2 separate regions of the Homo sapiens genome follow, and region 1 is linked to region 2. Evidence: promoter capture Hi-C in 16 types of primary human blood cells and fetal thymus (Javierre and others, 2016). All regions are on one chromosome and are shown on one strand. The core of a region is centred on a gene start or on the middle of the fragment in contact, and the rest is flanking DNA. Distances in the headings are between cores, read along the strand shown.

The links. The method cuts DNA at HindIII sites, captures the fragments that hold promoters and counts their contacts. A CHiCAGO score of 5 or more calls a contact.
Region 1: a fragment that was not itself captured here is called in contact with the fragment with the promoter of LINGO1 in region 2 in 2 of 17 cell types (endothelial precursors and M1 macrophages); the score reaches 6.4 in endothelial precursors.

What each region holds. Positions count from the first base shown.
Region 1 is chr15:77,849,301-77,856,952 of GRCh38, reverse strand. No RefSeq gene overlaps it. Among named protein-coding and RNA genes, the nearest start is that of LINGO1-AS2, 190 kb to the right of the region's middle. The HindIII fragment of the contact is 1,889 bases long and covers 1,923-3,811 here.
Region 2 is chr15:77,627,923-77,635,499 of GRCh38, reverse strand. LINGO1 (leucine rich repeat and Ig domain containing 1) reads left to right here and starts at 2,588. Exons shown (of 2, transcript NM_032808.7): 1 at 2,588-3,190. The coding sequence starts at 3,185. It overlaps LOC105370906 (a long non-coding RNA gene), which reads right to left. Exons shown (of 4, transcript XR_001751806.2): 4 at 5,039-5,215. RefSeq lists enhancers at 1,635-1,764, 1,206-1,769, 5,164-5,729. The HindIII fragment of the contact is 14,548 bases long and covers 1-7,084 here.

The DNA.
Region 1 (7,652 bases), core at 1,618-4,117, 220 kb before region 2:
GGTGCCCATTGCCTACAAGATGAGATTGCATGCTCCCCTTGGGCACACCCAGTACTGAGTTTCCAGCTCATAGTTGAGCAATAGTCCTTTTCTTTTCCTTTTTAAATGAACCTCAGGTACACACAATTGAGTTAATCACACCCCCTAGTTAGGATGCACTGTTACTATTGGCTCATGCAGGGCCACTGTAATTAATAAATGTGTTTGCAATAACACAGCAAGCACCTTTAAACTCAGAGCTCAACCCAAGATCTGGAACCTTAACAATATTTGTACCTACCTTTGTGCCCCTCCCTCTGTCCCTCTCCCTTCTCCCTGCCGCCTCCTCAGAGGTCAGCACTATGCTGAATTTTGTATGTATTACTCCCTTATCTTTTTTTTCTTTTTTTTTTTTAAGAGATGGGGTCTCTCCCTGTTGCCCAGGCTGGAGTGCAGGGGTGTGATCATAGCTCACTGAAGCCTCAAACTCTTGGCCTCAAGTGATCTTCTTGCATTGGCCTCCCAAAGTGCTTAGATTACAGGTGTGAACCACTATGTCCAGGCCCTCTTGCCCTTTCAAACATAAATTTATCTCTGCTTTTCCTTTTTCCTTTTTTTTTTTTTTTTTTTTGTTGGAGACAGAGTCTTGCTCTGTTGCCCAGGCTGAAGTGCACTGGCACGATCTCAGCTCACTGCAACCTCCACCTCCCAGGCTCGAGTGATCCTCCCACCTTAGCCTTGTGAGTAGCTGGGACTATAGGCACTCACCACCATGATCAGCTAAATTTTTAAATTTTGTGTGTGTGTGTGTGTATTTTTTGTAGAGATGGGGATTCACCATGTTGGCCAGGCTGGTTGCAAACTCCTGAGCTCAACTGATCTGCCCGCCTGGGCCTCCCAAAGTGCTAGGATTATGGGCATGAGCCATCACGCCTGGCCTAAATTTGTTTCTGTATCAGTTAGGATAAACTAGGTTACACCACAGTAACAACCCCCAGTCTCAGTGGCTTGCCCTGAAAGAGGCTTCTTTTTCTGCCAATGCAGTTTGGCAGAGGCTCTGCTCATTGCAGGCACTCAGGGACCCAGGCATGTGGATGGCACAGCCACTATCTAATGATACTGCCATTTCAACTCTAAGTTCTGGGGTTTGCTTTGGTTGGGGGAGGAAAAGAATAAGAAATATGTGCCAGCTCTTAGACGTTTCTGCTCAAAAGTGATGCCGAGCACTTTTGCTGACATTTTACTGGCCAAAGCTCTTCCCAAGGCTATCCCTAATTTCAAGAGGGCATGAAGGAAAAATGCCTTCCAAAATGAAGGAAGAACCAGAAGACTCATTGAACATGGGTAATTCCGCCACAACCACATATCTGTGGATGCCTAAGCAATACATTGCTGATTTGAGCTGTTTGTGATCTTTATAAAAAGGCATCGTGTTATATATGATCTTCTGAGATTTACTTTTTCACTCAACATCATGTTAAGATTCACACATACTATTGTACATAGTGGTCTTTTTTTTTTTTCAATTTCATTGCAGTACAGTATTCCATGGAAAGATTCTGCCCCCATGTATCCATTTTCCTTTCAAAAGGCATTTAAGTTGTTCTAATTTGTTTGCTGTAATGGACACTGCTCCTGTGAATGGTCTCTTCTTGCAACTTCATTTTGATTTCATCAGTCCAAGCTGCAGATTTTGAGCTACTTGCAGCTCCTGAGAGTTCTGTGCAGCTCCTGCCTCAGTCTTCAGGCCCCAGGTCCCAGGCAGTCCAGCCTCTCAGGGTGGAGGCTCCTCAATTCTCTGTGGTCCCTCCCAGCCAGCTGAGCAAGGAGCCAGTGCACAACCCTCCCCTCTGTGCAGCAACTTCTGCTTCCTGCTGCTCTCATCTTAACAATGGGAGGCAGAGCTGGGGTGCAGGTGAGGGCAGCATGTCAGGTGGGAAGCTTCCTCTGAGAAACACCCATTGTGCTGGGTGCTGGAGATGCAAAGAATAACTCATTCATTTACAAAGCAGACATTTATTTCCTTCCTTTTATGTGTGGTACTCCGTTACAGTGGGACCACAGAGATAAAGGACCTGCCCTCAAGGAGCTCATAGTCAAGTTGAGGAAACAGAGACATAAATAAATCACTGTTTTTGCTGACACATAAGATGTGCAGGTGTCTAAGTCTCATTGCGATTTTATAAATCTAAGTATGTCTAGTCATATATGTCTCCATGTCTCTCTCTGCCTATCTAATAAACATGATTTTATTTACGTAAATTTGGCATCATCTATACTGGGATAGAATGAGAAACCAGATCTTGATTGATGGGTATTATTTTTATAGATCATAAAGTTCCTGAGCTAATACCTGTTTTTAATTCTTCTAGTTGGGTCACTTTAAAATTTCCCTAGAGAGATAGGCTGGCTGCAGCTTTCAGATGTGCTTTTGATCTTCTCCTGGTCTTTATCTTCTTTTTTTTATTCTCAGTTGCTGGTGGACCAAAATATCCCTGCATTCCCTTGGGAAGTTAATATTCAGCTTGACCCTAATGTTATAGCAATGCTTCCACTGCTTTTGAGCAATGGCTTACATTCACATCTGAAATGCTGGAGAAAGAACCCATATCCTACCTCTGATCAGTCATGTGGCTTGTTGCGGCTTTAATTAAGAGTACCTACGGGAAGTGATCCTGGAATCTTTTCATTTTTTTTTGCCACAGGGTCTGGTTATGTTGCTTAGGCTGATCTTGAACACCTGGGCTCAAGCATCCTTCCACCTCAGCTTTCCAAATAGCTGGGGCTATCGGCGTGTGCCTGGCATGCTGGAATCTTTATTGTGATGTCTTGGGCTGCCTCGTCCAGCCCCACTTCAAGAGGGTGGCATTGTTGTATGTACCCACAAATTAGGGACCTTGATGTGGGCAGCCCAGGAGATGTGGGTCCCCAGATGAGGGTGCCTCTGACTCTGCTTGTGTAGGGAACACGTCGGTAGGGGAATTCACTGAGATGGTGGTGTACCAGTGGAGTCTTGAAGAACCAGCTCGTGTTATCCAGGAAGAGGAGAAGAGCTGGAATTCCAGGACAAGAGAATAGCATGTGCAGCGCCATGACAGGACCTGGTGCCAATAGGAGGCAGTGAGTTATTTGCAGTGGCCAGGACAGAAGCCCACTGCAGGGGATCTTGCCATGTTGCCCAGGCTGGTCTCGAACTCCTGGGCTCATGCAACCCTCCTGCCTCAGCCTCCCAAAGTGCTCGGATTATAGGTGTGAGCCACCACTCCAGGCCTTTAACCGTTTTTAAATGTACAATTCAGTGGCGTTAAGTGCATTCAAAATGTTGTGCAAACAAAACATCACTACTATCCATTTCAAGAACTTCTGCATCATCTCAAACAGAAACTGTACCCACTAAACAGTTAGTCCCCGTCCCCCTTCCCCTAGCCTCTGGTGACCTCTTTACTACTTCATGTCTCTATGAATTGGCCTATTTTAGATACTTCATGTAAGTGGAATCGTAAAACATTTGTCCTCGTGTGCTTGTGTGTCTGGCTCATTTCATTTAGTATAACGATTTTAAGTTTCACCCATGTTGTAGCATGTATCAGAATTTCATTTCTGTTTATGGCTGAATTTTATTATTATGTGATGGAATTCTGACTTCTTCCTGGACGCACTGGGTTGCCAGGAGAGTTTTATAGTCAGAGAACACCTGCTGTTTAGGACAGTTTCTGACCCTGGATGCAAGGATAAGGAGGAGGTGGAGGCCTGCAGAAAACTGTGGCCAACGTTCAGCAACAGAATTATGACCCTTCGATCGCTGGTGTGGCCTCGCCTCCTCCAGGAAGCTTGTCCTCCACTCTGAAACCTCCAGGGCGCTTTCTGTCTTGTGCATTTCAGCAGCTGAACCGCTGAGTATCTGCTATTCTTTTTGATCTTTTGGCATGTGAGGACTGTGCCCCAGGCACTCTGGGACTCCCAGGCCAGGCCCCCAGCTTCTCCTCCCTCTGACCCCCACAGCACAGCCCAGTGCATAGCTGAGGCCTCAGTGGACACTGGAGTTGGGGGTCAGGGAGAAGGGTCGCCCCAGATATGTCTGGCAGACGTGCCTCTGGCTGAACCCACTCCCGCTCCTGCCTCTCCTGCTCCCAGCCGTTCCTTTGGGTTTGGGCTGCATCCCACCAGCCAGCACCCCACCCCTAGCGCCCGCGGAAGGTTTCATCTCCCGAGCTGGGTTGAAAGAAACAGAATAAGTCCCTGGGGTGTCGATAACAGGGTTATAATCCAGCGGGATGAGACTGAACTCCCTGGAGTCTCATAGCATTTTTCCAGCCCTGGTCGCTTTATTACTATATCGCTGACTGATGGGGCTCCGGGGAGCTGTGGTTCCAGCAGCCGCTCTGCTGCCACACCCCGTTTGTAATTGATCAAGCTGCAGTTGGACTGAGCAAATTCATGCCCCTTCCTGCCCCTTGCGCTCTGTTCTCCCCTCCTTTTCCTCTCTCTTCTGCTCCTGAGGCTTCCGCTTTGGGCAGTGGAGATTCGGTCCCCGTTGCCACAGGCCTCGAGCTTGTGAGGTGCCGGCAACTGCTGCAACTCTGGAGGCTGCAGACTCAGGTCCGCTTCCCTGTTGTGTGAGCTTGGGCAGGGGGCTCACCCTTTCTGGGCCTCCATCTCCTGCCCAGAGCAATAAGGGGATTGAGCTAATGTGCTCTGAGGCTTCATTTAGCCCTGACTGCTCCGTGACTTATTTTTGAGTCTTCGATGTGAATTTGTACAATGTTTTCTTCTAAGACTGTGACAGTGTGAAGGAATTGGGTGGGACCTGCTTTCCCTCTACTCCCCGGGAGTTCCAGGCAATGGGGGCATCACTCCTCTTTCCCCTTGGGATACGTGTTACTAGCCCCAGGCTGGTGGGCTGGTGACTCTCTTCAAGGCTGCCTTAGAGTCCAACCCATTAGGTCAGAGCTCGTGGGGGAATCCGATGCCATCCTGACTCAATCAATGGGAGCCCACAAAGGGAGAGAAGTGGCAGAGCTGGCCTGGCAGAGAGCCCAGAGCTGCATCCAGCCTCTGCTCTAATTGTGCCCACAGATCGCTGGATGCCTGTGCACTCTAGAAGCTCTCTGGGGAAGGACATTTCACAGATGAGGGACTTTACCAGTCCGGGGTTTTATAAGCGCACTGCTGGGCCAAGTCACTCTCATGAGCAGTTGTCAATGATTTACCTTTCTTCCCAAGTAGGCGGAGATATTAACTAAGGGATGGCTGGGCCTCACTTTAAGCAGCTGCAAAGAAGAATGATGATTTTCTAACAAGAGCTTTTTTTCTGTCCACCTTGAATGCTCTATCTCTGGACTTGTAAGACAATCCTTCCTGCTGATTGCGAGTAAAGGTGAGCCTCAGACACCAGGTGATGGAGACAGTGCTCTGTCCATCAATGCCACAGCTCCATCTGGTTCTAAGATCTGTCAGACTCCCCAAGAGAGAGTGAGGGGAGGCTGGACTGCTAAACAGCATCCCCTGGGGCATTGGCATTGCCTGTCTCTGGCCTGGGGAACGAGGTCTCGTACACAAGATTGGTCTGAATCAGCCCCAGGAATGAGACTTCACAATCTCCCTGCATCTTGGGGGTGGTCTGGGGAGAGGGGAAAAGCTGGGGTGGTGAGGGGAGGCAACCTGCGTTCCATTTCTAGCTGTGCCATTAATCATCACGTGACCACAGACAAGCGCCTGTGCCTCTCTGACCCTCAGCCACTCCCCACTTCCCTGGGTGTTGACAGGATAAACATGAGGCTAGGGTCCTAAAAGTATCTGGCAAAGATTTCTCCCCCGGCGCCTTGGTCAACACATTCATGCCTCTATCTAAAGTCCATCCTCAAACCTCCAAAAAAATCAGGTATAATGGGACTACCCAAACAAGTTATAACTTTTCAAAGATAGACACAGAATGAAAAGTTTTTACAGGATGTAAAATGAGACTCTGCAGTTCGGTTATGATAGATGAAATTGTTTCACCTCTCTACCTCTCTTTTTTTTTTTTTTGTTTCCAATTTTAAAAAGTTTTCATTGAGTGCCGTGGCTCATGCCTATAATCCCAGCACTTTGGGAGGCCAAGGCGGGCAGATGGCTTGAGCCCAGGAGGTCAAGACCAGCCTGGGCAACATGGTGACATCCTGTCTCTACTAAAAATACAAAAATAATTAGCCGGGCTTTGTGGTGTGCACCAGTAGTCCCAGCTACTGATGGGCTGAGGTGGGAGGATCGCTTAAGCCCAGAAGGTTGAGCCTACAGTGAGCCAAGATTGGGCTACTGCACTCCAGCCTGGGTGACAGAGCGAGACCTTGTCTCAATTAAAAAAAAAAAAAAAGTTTGCTCCTTTCTTTTCTCTTTTCCTCCTTCTACTTTCTTTGGGCTTATTCTTTTGTTCTTTTTCTTCCTTTTTGAGTTAAATCACTGATATTTGCTTTGAATCTTTTCTCTACTTTCGTAAATTCATTGAAGGCTATACATTTGCTTCCAAATATTGCCTTAGCTGCACCTCACAAGCTATAAATTGTATTTATAACCTTTAGTGGTTACTTTTTTCCAATTTTTTTCATTGTGGTAAAATACGCCTAACATAAAATGTATCACCTTAACCATTTTAAAGTGCAGGGTTGTTGTTGTTAAATACATTAATAATGTTGTGCAACTGTCACCACCATTCAGATTCATAACTGTTTTAATCTTGTAAAACTGAAACTCTGTACAATTAAATAATTCCCCATTTCCCCCTCCCTCAAGTCCCTGGCAACCACCATTCTAACATATCTATTTCTGTGATTTTGACTATTGTAGATGCCTCATGTAAGTGGAAACATACAATATCTGCTCTTTTGGCTGGTTTATTTCACTTAGCATAATGTTCTCAAGATTCCTCCAAATTGTAGCATGGGTTATAGTTTCTTTATTTCTATTTTTTTTTTTTTTTTTTTGAGATGGAGTTTCGCTCTTGTTGCCCAGGCTGGAGTGCAGTGGTGCGATCTCAGCTCACCGCAACCTCCGCCTCCTGGGTTCAAGTGATTCTCTTGCCTCAGCCTCCCGAGTAGCTGGGATTACAGGTGCCTGCCACCAGGCCGGGCTAATTTTTGTATTTTTAGTAGAGATGGGGTTTCACCATGTTGGCCAGGCTGGTCTCAAACTCCTGAGTTCAAGTAAGCCACCCACTCCAGCCTCCCAAACTGCTGGAATTACAGGTGTAAGCCAACTCATCCAGCCCATTCTAGCTATTAATTTTTTTTTTTTTTTTTTGAGACAGTCTCACTCTGTCACCCAGACTGGAGTGCAGTGCTACAATGGCTCACTGCAACCTCCCAGATTCAAGCAATTCTTGTGCCTCAGCCTCCCAAGTAGCTGGGACTATAGGCACGCACCACTATGCCTCACAAAGTTTTGGTATTTTGGTAGAGACGAGTTTTCACTATGTTGCCCAGGCTGTTCTTGAACTCCTGAGCTCAGGCAATCCACCCACCTCAGCTTCCCAAAGTGCTAGGATTCCAGGTGTGAGCCACCACATCCAGCCCTAGCTATTAATCTTTTATCAGATACATGGTTTGTAAATATCTGCTCCATGGGTTGCCTTTTTACTCTGTTGACAATGTTTTCTGATGTACGAAGTATTAAAATTTTGATGAAATCCAATTTACCTG
Region 2 (7,577 bases), core at 1,339-3,838:
AGGACTCTGCTGGGAACCACCCCACCCGACAGGAGAGGAGAGATGCCTGTTCCACAGCTCATGCAGAGGTAACTGGGTGGGGACCCAGTGACAGACCCCCTTTTCCTGGAGTCTCTAGGTGACAATGCCAGGGACCCGTACTCTCACCAGGCCCAAACTAGACCCTCAAAAAGGCCTATCCTCCAAGTTGTTCCCCCAAAGCTCCCCGTCGTTTCCATTGGAATAAAACAGGGAGAGCTGGGAGGGGTCATGTCTTTTGGAGACAAAGGGAAAGGGGAATGGCTTGGATGCCATTGACAGTGGAGAACCGAGGCCAAGGGGCTCTTCCTCCCAGACACAGCTCCGTGGTCATCCCTGCTGCCTCCGAGGCGCGGAGGGATCATTGTGGGCACCAAAATACCCCACCCTAGGACCCCAGCTTCCTCCGGTAGCACCTGGGGGTTAGCGGGGTGGAATGAGTGGGCTCTCCCCCATTTCTCCGCCGAGATCACTGAGGCAGGGAGCAGGTGAGTCGGGGGCGGAGAGATGTGGTGGCCGCGCCTTGCCTGCGTCAGTCACCGCACCAGGAATAGCCCTCGCCCCCGCCCCCGCCCCCCAGCGGGTCTGCGCGCCCGCCGGGTGCCTGGCGGAGCCTTTACGCAGGAGCCAGCGAGCGTCTATTCCTGTCGGGCTGGTGGGAGGAGGCGGCGCGGGAGGGCGGGAGCGCACGGGTAGCTCACAAACAGCCGGGGTGGGGGGGCTGGGGAGTCTGGGGAGGGGTCCAGGCAGCGCGGAGTTGAGGGACCGGGGAGTCGCCTGCGCTGGGCTCTGGCAGGGAGGGGGACTCCTGTGCTGGCCTCCCTGCTTCACCTCCCACCTGTAAGTCCTTCTGCCGAGCCTGCCCCCTGCTGGTCCATTCAGCCATAGAAGACGAGTCCAGTTCCCTTTCCGTGGCTTGCTGGCTGTGTGACCATGGGCAGAGCCTGGAACCTCTCTGGGCCTGGGCTTCCCTCCCTCTGTCACAGGGGAACAATAGTGCCTCCCCCAGAGTTGCTGGAGGGTGAACGTACAGTTCACAGTAGAGCATAGCATGGACGCCTGCTAGGAGGGACTCTAGCTAGGCCTAGGTTGAGGATGGGCATAGACATAGGAGACAGGAGAAAGTGCTCCAGACAGGACTGTCCAGAGCAACGGTGTGCCAGAGAGACTGAGAAGTACCCAGAAATGGTGCAGCTGGAACAGAAGGTCTGTGCAAGCCTTTGGGCTGTGTGTGAGGCTGAACAGCGAGAAACAAGGTGCTGTTGGGGGTGGGGAGAGGTCCCTCCGTGGCAACCAGGCATCTCTGCAATGATGTTGCGCAGGCTTCCTGGGAGAGGGGGTGTCACTGGAACTGGGATTCCAGCGTCTGCCCCAGAATCCGAGAGGCTTTGGGCTAGATCCCCTCCCCCAGCCTCAGCTGCCCCTGTGGACTCAAGCTATTAGGAGTATTCATGTGCTAATGGGTTGTTCCCAGCAGGGGAGGAGGGATGGCCGTGCCGGGCGGTGTCAGCATTGATGGTTATTCTAATAAAACTGGCTTGGTGGTAAAGGGCGTCTGGCTTCAAGGAGATGGAGGGGGTAGTATAGGGAAAAAGGTGAGGTCCTGAGGGTGGTAACCTACTCTGCAGGCTTTGCCAAGACATCCCTGCTGGCCTAGTTTCTGTATCTGAGGATCAAGGAGGATCTGGATCTCCGAGGAGAGGTCCCATTCCTTGGGCCCGTCTGAAGTTGTGGCCCCAGCCGAGGATCCCCGGGACCATTCCGGGAGGAGGGAACAGTCAAGCCCAGGCGGAGGCTCTGCGCTGCCCTCTGCTGGCCACTGGGTGCAGGGCCTCCGGACGGAGCGGGCCAGAGAGGCCTGCCGCCCTCTGCTGGACAGGAAGCCAGGCTGGGCGGGGACCCCGGCTCCTGGGTAGAGCTGCCGGGCCAGCGCGGCTTCCTCGCCGTCCCCTGGAGCTTCCCATTCTGCCTGCCTCGCCCTCCCGCGCTAGAATGTGGGCCCTCTAGCCTCGCGGACTTTCGAGAGGAGGGGACAGGGCCAGGACGGGGGCTCCCGGTCGGCCTCCCCATGCCGCCCTCCAAACAACCCTGTTCGTGTAGGGAGCCCTGTCCGTCCTCGTGCGTGTGTTCGTCCACAGCCCAGTTAACACGTGTAAACACACTCGCGCGCTCACATGCACACGCATGTGGCAACACAAAAATCACACACAACGGTGTGCGCGCATACACCCAGGGAGGACCGCACGCCGGACTCCCCGACACCCGGCTGGCCCGGGACTCGCCCAGAGCCCCGGACCCGGAGGGGCGCGGCCGTGTGCAGAGCTGGAGCGCCTGGCTGGTGCGCCCCTCGCCTGCGCACCCCTGCCTGTTTCGCTGCCCTAAGCGTGCAGGGCAGCGGCTGGGGCGCCCCTCGCTCTCCGCCCCCTCCGCTGAAAGGAGACGAACCACCCCCCACCCCACCACCACCATCACCAGGTTTTGCGGCCGCGCCTTCTCCTCCCCCGCCCGGCTCCCGCGGCTCACTCGCTCCCTCCTCCCTCGATCCCTCCTCCCTCCCTGGCTCGCTCCTAGTGCTCCCTCCCCGCGCCGCTGCAGAGCGCGGAGCCCGAGCGGGAGCCGGCGCGGGAGCCGGAGCGGGCGGCGGGCGACAGCGCAGGCGGCGGCGGCGGCGGTGGGTCCTGGTCCCGGCCCCGGAGGGCGCGGAGTCCCCACCCGCGCCGCTCCGGCCCCTCTCCCGACGCGGGGCGCCGAGCAGCATGCGCGGCCGCTGCCCGCCGGCCCCGGCCCCGCGGCGGAGCGCGCCCGGCCTCGACCCCGGCCCCAGCGGCAGAGGCGGCGGCGGCGGCTCCGGGCCGGCCCAGGGGGCAGAAGCAGGCTCGCGCAGCCCCTGTCCCGCGGCCTGAGCGCGCCCGCCCATCCGCCCGCCGGGGCCGCGGCCTCCCGCCTCCCCACTCCCGAGCCCCGGCCCCGGCTCCGGCTCGGCTCCCGCCCGCGCGGGGCGGACAGACGGACAGCCAGCCCCGCGAGGGCGCGCGGACTGCCGGGCGGAGGTGTCGGAGGAGGAGGAAACGGAGGAGGGGGCTGGGCAGGGGCTGGGGCCTGGTCGGGCCGGCTGGAGAGACATGCGATTGGTGACCGAGCCGAGCGGACCGAAGGCGCGCCCGAGATGCAGGTGAGCCAGGCGGCCGCGGCCGAGCCCCGAGCGGGCAGCCCCGCGGCGAGTGCCCCTGGGGGCCGCCATCGGCCCTGGCTGCGCCCTCCTGGGGTTGCAGGGCACCTCGGTGCCACCCAGACCTCCTTTGGGGTCATAGGCCTGATTTCCCCTCAAGCCTCAGAAATGAAAATTCTTCCTTTTCCACCTCCCCTCTCTCCAACCCCAACAAATTCCGGGTTTGTAAGCTGGGAGCCTGGAGCTGGGGAGGGGCCCCCACGGGTGTCCCAGACCTGCTCTGGTCTCCCCTTCCTGTCCCCCCTCCCATTCTGAGTATTGGTCACTCTAGAGGGTAAGCCCCCTGCTCAGCCCTGGGTGGGTACCTCCCTTCGTGGACCCCAGGTACCCCCAGGCAGCCCCCACCAGCACCAGACACTCCCTAGCTGGTGGACACAGGTCAGGGGCTGGGTTTCTCCACAAGCTCCAGCCTGGATGGCAGCTCCCCACCACACACAAGCATCGCCCCTTTCCAGCTCCTGCCCAGTGAAAAGGAGATGGGGAGTAGGGAGAGTGGAAGGAAGGGAGTTGGGGACCGGGAGCGCCCAGGAACGCTTTAGGGGCCTCCCCTTTGTCTGCGTTCAGCCCGGGCTTCTCACCTCCTCTTGCCCCACTTTTCATTCTAAGGCAGAGCGGGTGGGAGGTGGGAACCAGCTGAGAAGAGGGAGGTAAGGAGGGAGCCTCCTGCTCCCCCTCACACCCTTTTCGGGGTGGGCTGTGGGCTCTCTGCTCTCAAGGCATGCCAGGAGATGTGACCCTCCGGGCGGATCCCACTTTGAGAAGGAGGGGTGGGGCCAGGCCAGTGGGCAGCCCCTCCCGGTTCCTGCTGGGGTCGCAGCCCAGCCTGGTCCAGCCTGACTGTGCCTGCACCTCCTCTTTGTTCTCAGAGGCCTTGGGGTTGGGGTGGGGCAGAAGGGGGCCTGAGAGGATGGGAAGAGCTCTGCCCTGAGCGGGTGGGAGTGCAGGAGGCCCTGAGGTAGGGGCTGTGGCATCTGGACAGCCCCTTCCTGCTCGCCCAGCCCTCCCTCAGTCCTCTGCTTGGTTTGGGCAGCCAGAGGGCGCATAGCCCAGCCTGGCCCGCGGCTCTGGGCTCAACCCTGTTGGTCATTATGCCAGTGGCTTCAGCACTGGTGCCTCCCATGCCCAGGGAGCAATGAGCCGGGACACCCAGGCGGCAGAGAGCCTGGGGCTTCCCCAGATCCAGCGCAGAGTGTCAGTGAGGAGAAGAGGGCCAGCTGCTCCCAGACCCTTTGTCCTTGTATAAGCCAGGGAGGAGCTCAAAATCCTCACGCCTCTGGGAAGGCACTAGCAGCAGGTCTACTGGGATGGCATGCCTGTCCTTCCTGCTTTCTACCCGTGGCCCGAGGTGGGAGGGAGGGTATAGGGTGGCACCGGGGAGAGACCAATAACTCCTTGGAACCGTGCTGAAAGAGGGCACAGACTCACATCGGGGATCCCAGCAGCACCCAGCTGCCCCTCCTGGAAGGGGCTTAGCGAAGGCAGGGACAGGCACCCTGTGGTGTTCTTGTCTCTGCCCCCCTCCTCACCCCCTGACAATTTAAGTGTGAGCCCCTGGGTAGGGCTTAGTTAAAGCTGCAGTGTTCCCCAGGTTCTGGAGTTAAAGAGTGGGAACCAGCTTTTAGGGGGATGGGCATGTGCTCAAAGCCAAGGGCCCTGTGTGACTGGGAGGGAGGTGGAGAGACTTACCCCTTGCGATAGTCCTCTTTCATCTGGGCTCATCTTCATCCTCTGTCCTCTGGGCATCCATTTCTCCTATATTGGGTATTGTTTTCTAAAACCCAGACTCCCAGAGGGACACCTCCCCCACCCCAACCCCCCAAAAAACAACCTCTTGTGGAGGTGGGTGGTTGTTCTGCATGAGGCTAGACGGGATCCCTGGTGCCGGTGAGGGCTCATGTGTGGTGCTGCTCTTCAGGCGCCTTCAGCCGCAGATATCTGGAGAAGCACAATTGGGGTTGGGGCGTGTTCCTGTTGGGAGATAAGGCAGTGCAGTCATTCGTGCAGGGTCCCACGGAGGCATGAGGCAGCGTGTCCAGTGGAGGGTAGGGGAAGTGGAGCCAGGGAAGGGTGGGGGGCGGTGGGTAGTAGGTGTGGTGGTTTCAGAGTCAGGGCCTTAGCTTGCTGGCTGGAGTCTCTTGGGCTAGCTGTCCTGTGTGTGGCACTCTGTGGAAGTGGCCTTCCAGCCCCACCCACCTCCATGGTTAGTCTCTGGAGGCTTTCTGTTCTGTTTCCACCAGTTCCTCCACGTATCCCCCCATCCTCACCTGGCTTGGCCCCGCATCCCCTCACAAAAGGTCCTTTCCTCTCCTTCTCCTGACCCCCTCCTCCAAGAAGCCTCTCTGCCTGCTTCAAGTCATTGCCCCTCCTTCTCCAGTCACCCACAGCATAGAACCACACTTGTTTGCACTGAATATTGTACCAGCCCAGTCACGCATGCATTTGTTCTGCACATCCTAGCCAAGCTGCCTGCTCGGCTCTGGGCTAAGCATGATCTGCCTTGAACACCCTGAGCAATCCTAGTACCCTTCCTTTTGCCCTCCTGCCTGGCCCCTGGGATGGGACAGACCCTTGGAGGTACAAGGGAGTAGCTATTGGCTAGCGGCAAGGACTATCTGTGCATGAATGCACAGAGCTAGATGATGTCAAAGATGCCCCAGGCAGGGGTTGAGAAGAGACAGACAGGGTACTCAGTAGCCCACACAGGCACTCAGAGAAGGGTGAGATTTCTCCCTGGGGGTTGAGGTTGTCAGAGGTGCTTTAGGAAGAGAGGGAGACTGGCTGAGTCCTAGGGAAGCAGCAGACTGCAGAGACACAGAGAGCAGGGGACTCCAGAATCAGGGAAGGTTCTTTGTAGAAAGAGTGTGAGAAGGCAGGTTCATTTCCCAATACATTTAAGGCATTCTTGATGCTGACCTCTGTTTGGTTGTGGAAGAATGAATGAATGAATGAATGAACGAACAAGCGAACGAATGAATATCCCTGGGTGCTGTGGGCTCAGTAGAGCTGTGCTGACAACAATCTACTTGTGTGTGTTCAGTTTCTTCAATGTTATTTCATAGTGAAGTTGTTAAGAATGTGGACCCTGGAGCCAAAAGTCTGGGCTCAAGTCTCAGCTCCACCACTGCCTAGTTCTGTGACTTTGGGCAAGTTACTTAATCTCTCTGGGCCTGTTTCCTTATCTATAAAGTGAGAGTAACAATAGTATCCACCTCAAGGGAGGTCGTGACAATTAGGTGTGCTAACATATGCAAAACATTTAGAACACTGCCTGGTACACAGTAAGCCTGTAATAAGTGCTAGCTACTCATAGTTTACATCAGTGATATGCTCATGATCTTATCCTTGTAGGTGGTAGGTGCAGAGGTTTGATTTTATACCCAAGAAAACAGAGCCAGAGAGGTGGCGAGTGACTTGCTGTGAGTCCCCAGCTTGCAAGCCTGCGGTTCAGTCTAGAATGCCTTCTTCCTGACCTCTGGGCTGGGGCTCTTACTCACTAATCCAGGCCCAGCCTGTTAATTAATTAATCGAGGCATTTAGTATTAATCGTAGTAGCAGTAATAATACTATAATGAACACTGTTACCCTACTCTCCAACTTAAACACCAGCAATCCAGTAATGATGTACATCTCCCCATGTGCTCCTGCACACCCCGTCCCGTTGCCTCTTTTTCAATGACTACTCTAAATTATGTATTTCACAATCCCTTGCCTCTTTAAAATTATATATTTTAACATATATAAGTAGTTCAGTTTTAGTTATTTTTGAACTTTATAAAAAGAGCATGAACTGTGTGCAGTCCTCTGGAATTTGCCTTTTTTCTTTATCACATTTAAGCTTCATCTATATTGTTGTGAATAATAGTAGTTGTAGCTCATTTTCACTGATGTATAATGTTCTGTCATGTGATCCTAAAAGTGTAATTAACATTCTCCTACCAATGGACATTTAGGTTATTTCCATTTTTTGCTCTTACAAACAATGCTGCCAGGAACCTTCTCATCCCATCTCTGAGGCAACATGCAGTGTCTCTGGGGCACACAGCTAGGAGCAGAATTGCTGGCCTGTAGGGCATGTTCGCATTCACTCTTACTAGGATATTTGCCAAAGTGTTTTCCAAATTGGTTAGACCAGTTTGCATCACCCCAGCAGGAGATGAGTGTCCCCATTGCACCCCATCCTGATCAACACTCGGTATTGTCAGGGGCCTTGATTTTTACTGATTGAATGAATGTAAGATGGTATTTCATGATGGCCTTGATTTGCATTTCTGGAATTCAAGGTTTCTGGTATATGAAATGTGGGTTGAGATGGGCAGCAGCCAGTGTGTAC